Regions from separate parts of the Homo sapiens genome. Here region 2 is linked to region 1. Evidence: promoter capture Hi-C in 16 types of primary human blood cells and fetal thymus (Javierre and others, 2016). All regions are on one chromosome and are shown on one strand. Each heading gives the region's core, a stretch centred on a gene start or on the middle of the fragment in contact. The rest is flanking DNA. Distances are from core to core; before and after follow the strand shown.

Evidence for each region. Contacts are between HindIII fragments. The CHiCAGO score rates a contact against its expected background, and 5 or more counts as called.
Region 2: the fragment with the promoter of EIF1 here is called in contact with a fragment that was not itself captured in region 1 in 3 of 17 cell types (total CD4 T cells, non-activated CD4 T cells and naive CD4 T cells); the score reaches 5.5 in total CD4 T cells.

Annotation. Positions count from the first base shown.
Region 1 is chr17:40,851,919-40,855,618 of GRCh38, forward strand. The region is part of intron 1 of LOC105371777 (a long non-coding RNA gene); the gene reads left to right. Among named protein-coding and RNA genes, the nearest start is that of KRT12, 13 kb to the right of the region's middle. The HindIII fragment of the contact is 1,416 bases long and covers 1,348-2,763 here.
Region 2 is chr17:41,687,327-41,690,924 of GRCh38, forward strand. EIF1 (eukaryotic translation initiation factor 1) reads left to right here and starts at 1,559. Exons shown (of 4, transcript NM_005801.4): 1 at 1,559-1,743; 2 at 2,452-2,615; 3 at 2,762-2,863; 4 at 3,456-3,598. The coding sequence starts at 1,713. The coding sequence ends at 3,500. RefSeq lists enhancers at 1,260-2,168, 2,154-2,243, 2,169-3,077 and a silencer at 1,384-1,773. The HindIII fragment of the contact is 2,180 bases long and covers 1,339-3,518 here.

The DNA.
Region 1 (3,700 bases), core at 806-3,305:
AGAGAGACATAAATAGTGGCTTGGATGAGGAGGCAAAATACCAGATATGGCCAGGATATGTATAGGTATCTGTTGAATGAATGAATAAATAAATCTAGGGTCAGGAGACTTGGAGCTTGACCTAGTTAAAAAGCTACAATTGAAAGATTTTTAGATCAACATTGATAGAGGAATAATTTTTCTTTGATTGTTTAGTTAAAGTTCAATTTAACTGAAAGGTAAAAGCCAGTTAAAATAATGCTTTATTATTTGATTTTTTTTTCTGACAAAATGAAACATAATTTAAATGATCCATAGTGATCCTAAATAGATTTTTAGTTCAGAGATAAATTATCATAAGGACATAAGATGTTTGGATATATGTGTATAGCAAGTGTTTTATGATACATATTCTACATGTTGGGAATGTAGTTTTATATGATTAAGTTTTCAGAGTGCCAATGCTTTGGAAAGTGCAGCTAAAAAGTCTCCCTGTGGACAAATTGGCAAATAATTGTGTAACCTGCTACTTCAGCTTTGTGTCTTTGGTGTTATAATATTATATTGTCCTTTAGCTCCTCAGAAATGATCTCCTCTTTAATGCAACTGTTACCTGTGTACCCTGGAGGTGACAGATAATCATGATAATGATGACTAAAACTTTCATCAGGTTCTCCTCCCTACTGAGACCTTCCTTTCCCTTGAGCAGTTCTTGTCTTCCCACTGGCCAGCGTTCAGTTCTATCTCCTTCAGCTCTGCAAGCTGTAAAAACACCTTCCATAGTCACACAGGGGAACTGAGTAAAATTCTCCTAACTTCACATCACCTGAAGGACTTTTTCTTACCCCTAGCCTCTGAGTAATAACACTGAGAAGGACTTCATTGTTGTGCTTTCCTATAACACCACTGCTGGATTCTGATTAGCCTGGATCTAATTCTGTAGTACTAATTTTTGTTCCAGGATTATCTCTATTGGATGCTGATTATATATATTTGTATTTTTTAAATGATAAACATTTATTTTATTATTTGTCAGCCTACTCAGTCATATATTAGATAGGCTAGGGAAGTTTAACATTAAAATTATCATCCAGAATCAGCACATAAGGCTGTTTAAAATGGGTATCCAGTGAAAACACCGTAAAGCACCTTGGGAGGTACTTTTTATCCAATGTAAATTGTAATATACAATGTAAAAACTGTATGAAACTTTATCATGTATTTGCCTTTAGATCATAAAAACTGAGGTTATTTTCAATAGACTATGTAGAGTCTTACATATAGTTGGTGCTAAATAAAAGCTTGTTGAAGGAATTGAAGCCATCCTCACAGAATTAAGAATTCTGGGCAGAAATGTAGTTATAATTAAGCTTTAACCAGGCTGCACTTTGACCCACTTCCTTGTAACTAAACATCACATAACCTTAGATTCTGACCATTTGCATCCCCATTGTTCCTGTAGATAGAAATTCTAATGTTAGAACCATGAGGCTTTTGTTTAAGAATTGCTTAAACGGATCCTGAATTACTGTGGAACTGCTAACGCCAACCAATTTAAAGACTCCCACAGACAAACCAAATGAGCATGAGAGTACAGTTTCTTTCTCTCCCTGTCCTGGGACTTCACCCTGTACTCTTCAACTAATCAACAATCTCTATGCTTTGGCTCACTCCAAAACTCTTAAAAACCCTCGCCCCAGAGTCCCCGGGAAGATGGATTTGGGGTTTTCTCTTTTCTCCTCATTTGTTGGCCTTACCATTAAACCTCTGTCTCTGTTGCAACCTGGTGCCTCTGGGTATTGACTTGCTGTGAACATCCAGGCAATGAACCTATTACAGCTACAGAATGAATACACAAATAAATGCATATGTGATGCCCCACTTGTATACATAAATAAGCCAGCGGAGAAAACCAAACACCACATGTTCTCACTCATAAATGGAAGTTGAACAATGAGAACATGTGGACACAGGGAGGGGAGCATCACACACCGGGGCCTGTCGGGGAGTGAGGGACTAGGGGAGGGATAACATTAAGGAGAAATACCTAATGTAGATGATGGGTTGATGGGTGCAGCAAACCACCATGGCACGTGTATGCCTATGTTACAAATCTGCACGTTCTGCACATGTATCTCAGAACTTAAAGTATAATAATAAAAAATAAAAATTACACTGCAACTTGTCAAAAAAGTTATACTTGTTGCTCTGTTTATTTGAAACGTGAAATTGCAGCCTGACGTGATTTCTTTAAAATCCCATGTTACTTGCAAATAAATGAAATATTTCAAAATGAGTACACTTAGCAGAAACTTAGTAGTGTATGTATAACTTCAGGAGATCAATAAGTGCAAGTCAGTAACTAAAATGACCATATTCTTACCAACCAAGGTCATAGCGTCGTGTGTTTACGGTGTTTTTAAAGATTTCAAAATGCCGGGCTAATGTGATTATATGTGATATTATTGTTGTCTTTTTGTACAAAGTGAGTCATCTCAAGTTGAGTAACTTGTTCTGAGTAAGATAATGACTCACTGAGAAAGCCTGAAATACCATCTAAATGGCTTCTATTAGAGCCCACTGCTGTCTGTGGACTGTTTTATCAGTGTGATTTATTTACAGGTCTGCTTCTAAATTGCGTATTTGTTCCATCATTTTGAAGAAGAGTTGCATTTCATTAAGAATATGTACATAGTGAAAAAACAATGACATATTTTAGCAACTAGAATTCGCAATGAATTTAATTCTAAAGAAGAGTAGTATGCAGAATTTTTTTCCTGAAAAAGCTTGATGCTCATGTTTTTACAGTCTATAAAGTTAAAATATCTATTCTGAGTTTTGCAAACAATTTATTGCATGTGTGTAAAGCATTGCATTTATTTATAATTCTGCTATATTATGCTAATTTAAGAAATAAACCCTAAAATCATGCATGACAATTCCCAAGAATGCTAAGCTTTTTTTGAGACGGAGTCTCACTCTGTCGCCCAGGCTGGAATGCAGTGGTGCGATCTCAGCTCACTGCAAGCTCTGCCTCCCGGGTTCACACCATTCTCCCGCCTCAGCCTCCCAAGTAGCTGGGACTACAGGTGCCCGCCACCACGCCCGGATAATTTTCTGTATTTTTAGTAGAGACAGGGTTTCTCTGTGTTAGCCAGGATGGTCTCAATCTCCTGACCTCATGATCTGCCCGCTTCGGCCTCCCAAAGTTCTGGGATTATAGGCGTGAGCCACTGCTCCCAGCCCCAGTTTTTCTTAATTTATTTTATATACTCTGTATTTAGTTGTAGAATCCTCCCCTTCAATTTGAGCAGCTACATTAATATTAGCATTTTAGACAGGCACCGTGGTTTGCACCTTTCATCAGGCATCTGACATTTGACTAAAATGGCAGTAGTCTGAGGTGGGAGGATCACTTGAGCCCAGGAATTTGAGGCTGCAGTGAGCTATGAGCACACCATTGCACTACAGCCTGGGTGACAGAGAGCGACCCCATCTCTGAAGAAAGCACATCTTATAGTTTCAAAGTGCTTTATGGCTTGTTAAGCTCCTTCACAGAAGTTGGCTTATTTGATGCTCACAACTTGTGATAGAGGGAAGATAAATATTATTCCCCCCTCCCCATATGTTGGGTGAGAAAAGTGCACTTTTTTTTTTTACAAAAGTGGAATAATTTAGGATTGTGCATGAAGGGAAGAAAAAGAATAAATATGTCTGGGGG
Region 2 (3,598 bases), core at 309-2,808, 830 kb after region 1:
GATTACAGGCATAAGCCACAGCGCCCAGCCTCATTATCTTATTATTTGTTTAGTGGCTCTCTCTCCCGCTGGCCTTCAACTCCACAAGGGCAGTGACCCTGACTGTCAGGGACATAAACCAGCAGTCCATGGGCATGCATATTTTTGTTTGGCTTGCAGTGTTGTATCAAAAATTCAATTTATTCCTGTAATCCCAGCACTTTGGAAGGCCGAGGCAGGCAGATCACCTGAGGTCAGGAGTTCAAGACCAGCCTGGCCAACATGGTGAAAACCCATCTCTACTAAAAATATTTTTAAAAAACTAGCCGGGCGTGGTGGTGGATGCCTGTAACCCCAACTACTCGGGAGGCTGAGGCAGAAGAATTGCTTGAACCCAGGAGACGGAGGTTACAGTGAGCCGACACAGTGCCACTGCACTCCAGCCTCGGCGACAAAGTGAGACTCTGTCTCAAAAAAAAAATCAATTTATTGGCAATATTTAAAAATCAAGAGATTTTATGTAAACACCTGGATTTCCTGGCACTCTTGAAAAAGATCTAGCACAATGGGCTGGAGGTGAGCGGCCACTGCAGCCCGTAGTTCTTACTCCAGCCCCCAGTCCACCCCATTACATCACACTTGGCTGTTTGCACTCCTTGATCCTACTTACCTGCCTATCCCCGGAGGCCTTTGAGTCTAAAATTCCTGGTCTCTTTTCACCACTCTACTTACCCCTACAACTGAGTGTTGAAATAAATAAACTGAAAGCAAGAAAGGTTGACTGTTTTGAAGGAAATATTTCATCTAAACTCTAGGAAGGCTCTACTCCACACAAGCTGTGCCACATGAAGGACGCCCTCTGGTGCCAGAATTATTCTCGGGGGGGCCCAGAACCAGTTACTATACCTTGAACTCATGCCAATGAGCTGGGCACACTTTTTCCTTAGATGGATTAATCTAATCTAAATGAAAATTTTAGATCGGATTAACCCACTTTAGAATAAATCTAAATGGCAATCTAAATTATGCGGTTACCGTTTTGATTATATTATTGTATGTTGATTAATCAAAGTGCCGCCCTAAATCCCGCTGTGACTCCGTGGGTAGTAGGGTGGGTAGGTAGGTGGGTTTGACACAACGGGGATTTCTCGTGTTTGGGAGGCTCATCATCTAAATCCTCTCTAAGGAGTGTTCATTTACCATATGAAACTCCCCTTTTCGAGAAGACAGGGATGCAACAGGGTCAAGAAGGTGGAACGTACCAAAGGACACAGTGCGTAGGCGCGCTCGAAACCTGGGCCGGTATTCTCGGCACCCAGACACCGTCCACTCGCACTGCGCAGGCTCCGAGACAGATCAAGCTTTCCCTCCCCCTCCCAGCTCTCCTAGAGTCAAGAGGACGCCCTCCTGCCGCAGACTTCCTGCGCAAGCGCCATCCCATGTCCCCGCCTCCAAACCAATTGGAAGCGGCGCCGCCTGGGCGCTTGGGGCACGACGCTGTGGGTGGGGTCAGGACGTGAGGGCAGCGCGCTGGCGTCAGAGGCGCGGCTATATAACTAAACACAGGCACCGCCCCTCTGCCCCAGTCACTGAGCCGCCGCCGAGGATTCAGCAGCCTCCCCCTTGAGCCCCCTCGCTTCCCGACGTTCCGTTCCCCCCTGCCCGCCTTCTCCCGCCACCGCCGCCGCCGCCTTCCGCAGGCCGTTTCCACCGAGGAAAAGGAATCGTATCGTATGTCCGCTATCCAGAACCTCCACTCTTTCGGTAAGCTATGGGAAAGGTCGCGGGCCCGGGTGGGGCAGCGGGGCCTTCCGGGCCCGGAGACGTGTTCCGGGAAGTTGCCAAGCGCTCCGGGCCTTCGTAAGCTCGGGCAGGGGAAACTTGACCAGGGTCGCAGGGCAGCGGGATCAAGGCCTGGGCCCCGGGGTCGGACCCTGAGCGCGACCGGAAGGAGCAGGCGGTAGGTCAGCCCTTGGGCGGGCCCGGCGTCTCAGTGGCGCATTTACTAATGGCTCCTGGGCCTCCTCGGGCCACACCCGCCCCTCCCGTCACCATTGCGTCACGTCCGTTACGTCACCACCCGTTGTCACGGATCCGGAGGGAAAGGCGGTGCCAGCCCTAAGTGGCAAGCGGGTGCACCAATGGGGGTGGGAGGCTTAGCCCCGCCTCGGGAGCTCGGGTTCCGGCGGGTTGCATCAGCTGGGTGGGGCACCGCCTGGCAGCCCGGACTCCCCCGACATGTGATCGGCTTCCCAGGGAGGGCGGGAGGCCCGGGCGTTCCCCGAGCCTGGGGAAGCTGGCCGTCCCGGACTGACCTGCTCGGGGAGAGCCAGCAAAGGACACATTCGGCCTGGCCCAAGCCCTGACGATTTCAGTGTTGTTTTCTGCACGCGCAAAACACCTGGGGACCGAGGGGATGGCAGTGGCATCCTATCTTTGACAGCTCTGAACGAGCTTAACCTTTTTTTTCAGACCCCTTTGCTGATGCAAGTAAGGGTGATGACCTGCTTCCTGCTGGCACTGAGGATTATATCCATATAAGAATTCAACAGAGAAACGGCAGGAAGACCCTTACTACTGTCCAAGGGATCGCTGATGATTACGATAAAAAGAAACTAGTGAAGGCGTTTAAGAAAGTAGGTCTTCAGTGAGATTTTGGGAAAGTCATAATGGATTTGTCCACAAGGGGGTGCCAGCTGTGTTGTATGTATTGTTAGCGGAAGGGGTGATAAATGCGTTCATGCTCTTGCTAGGCCTAATTCGTTTTCCTTTGTGCTTGCAGAAGTTTGCCTGCAATGGTACTGTAATTGAGCATCCGGAATATGGAGAAGTAATTCAGCTACAGGGTGACCAACGCAAGAACATATGCCAGTTCCTCGTAGAGGTGAGTTCAGTCACTACTTGATTTGTGCCTCTCTGCTGGCAAATCTCAGATCCTGTCTGTTAGCTTCTGCTGGGGACATAAAAGTTGGCTTTGTAAGGCTGAGCAAAACCTCAGTTGGGTTTTAAAGTACATAGACTTATTTCTGTTTTATAGGAAAAAGCAGAAGGGACTTGTCTACCTTTGGTTTACTGTTTCTGTGGATCTACTTCACAGATGCAAATTTGAATAGCATATAGATGCATTGTAAAATAAGCCAAATGCTGGGTTGTTCCTGTATTTGTAAGGACATGAGTTTTTAAAAATGAATTTCCTGAGTATTAATACTAAAATACTGTTACATGATCAGCTCTTGATATAATTGAAGAGATTTCAGATACCTGATGAGTCTCATTCTCACACTAATTCAGAACCTTGGAAGGCACTGAGTGTTCAAAAAAGGTAGCTCTTAACTGAGGACCCTCTGTTGAACCATTGTGCGCACCCCTGGCTCTTGGGCAGTGTAGTAGCAGGAAGACAGGGTTGTTGCCATTAGAAATGGAGGCTTTAACTCTCCCTGTCCCCCATTTAAAACTTTGCCCTTTTGTCTTTTCAGATTGGACTGGCTAAGGACGATCAGCTGAAGGTTCATGGGTTTTAAGTGCTTGTGGCTCACTGAAGCTTAAGTGAGGATTTCCTTGCAATGAGTAGAATTTCCCTTCTCTCCCTTGTCACAGGTTTAAAAACCTCACAGCTTGT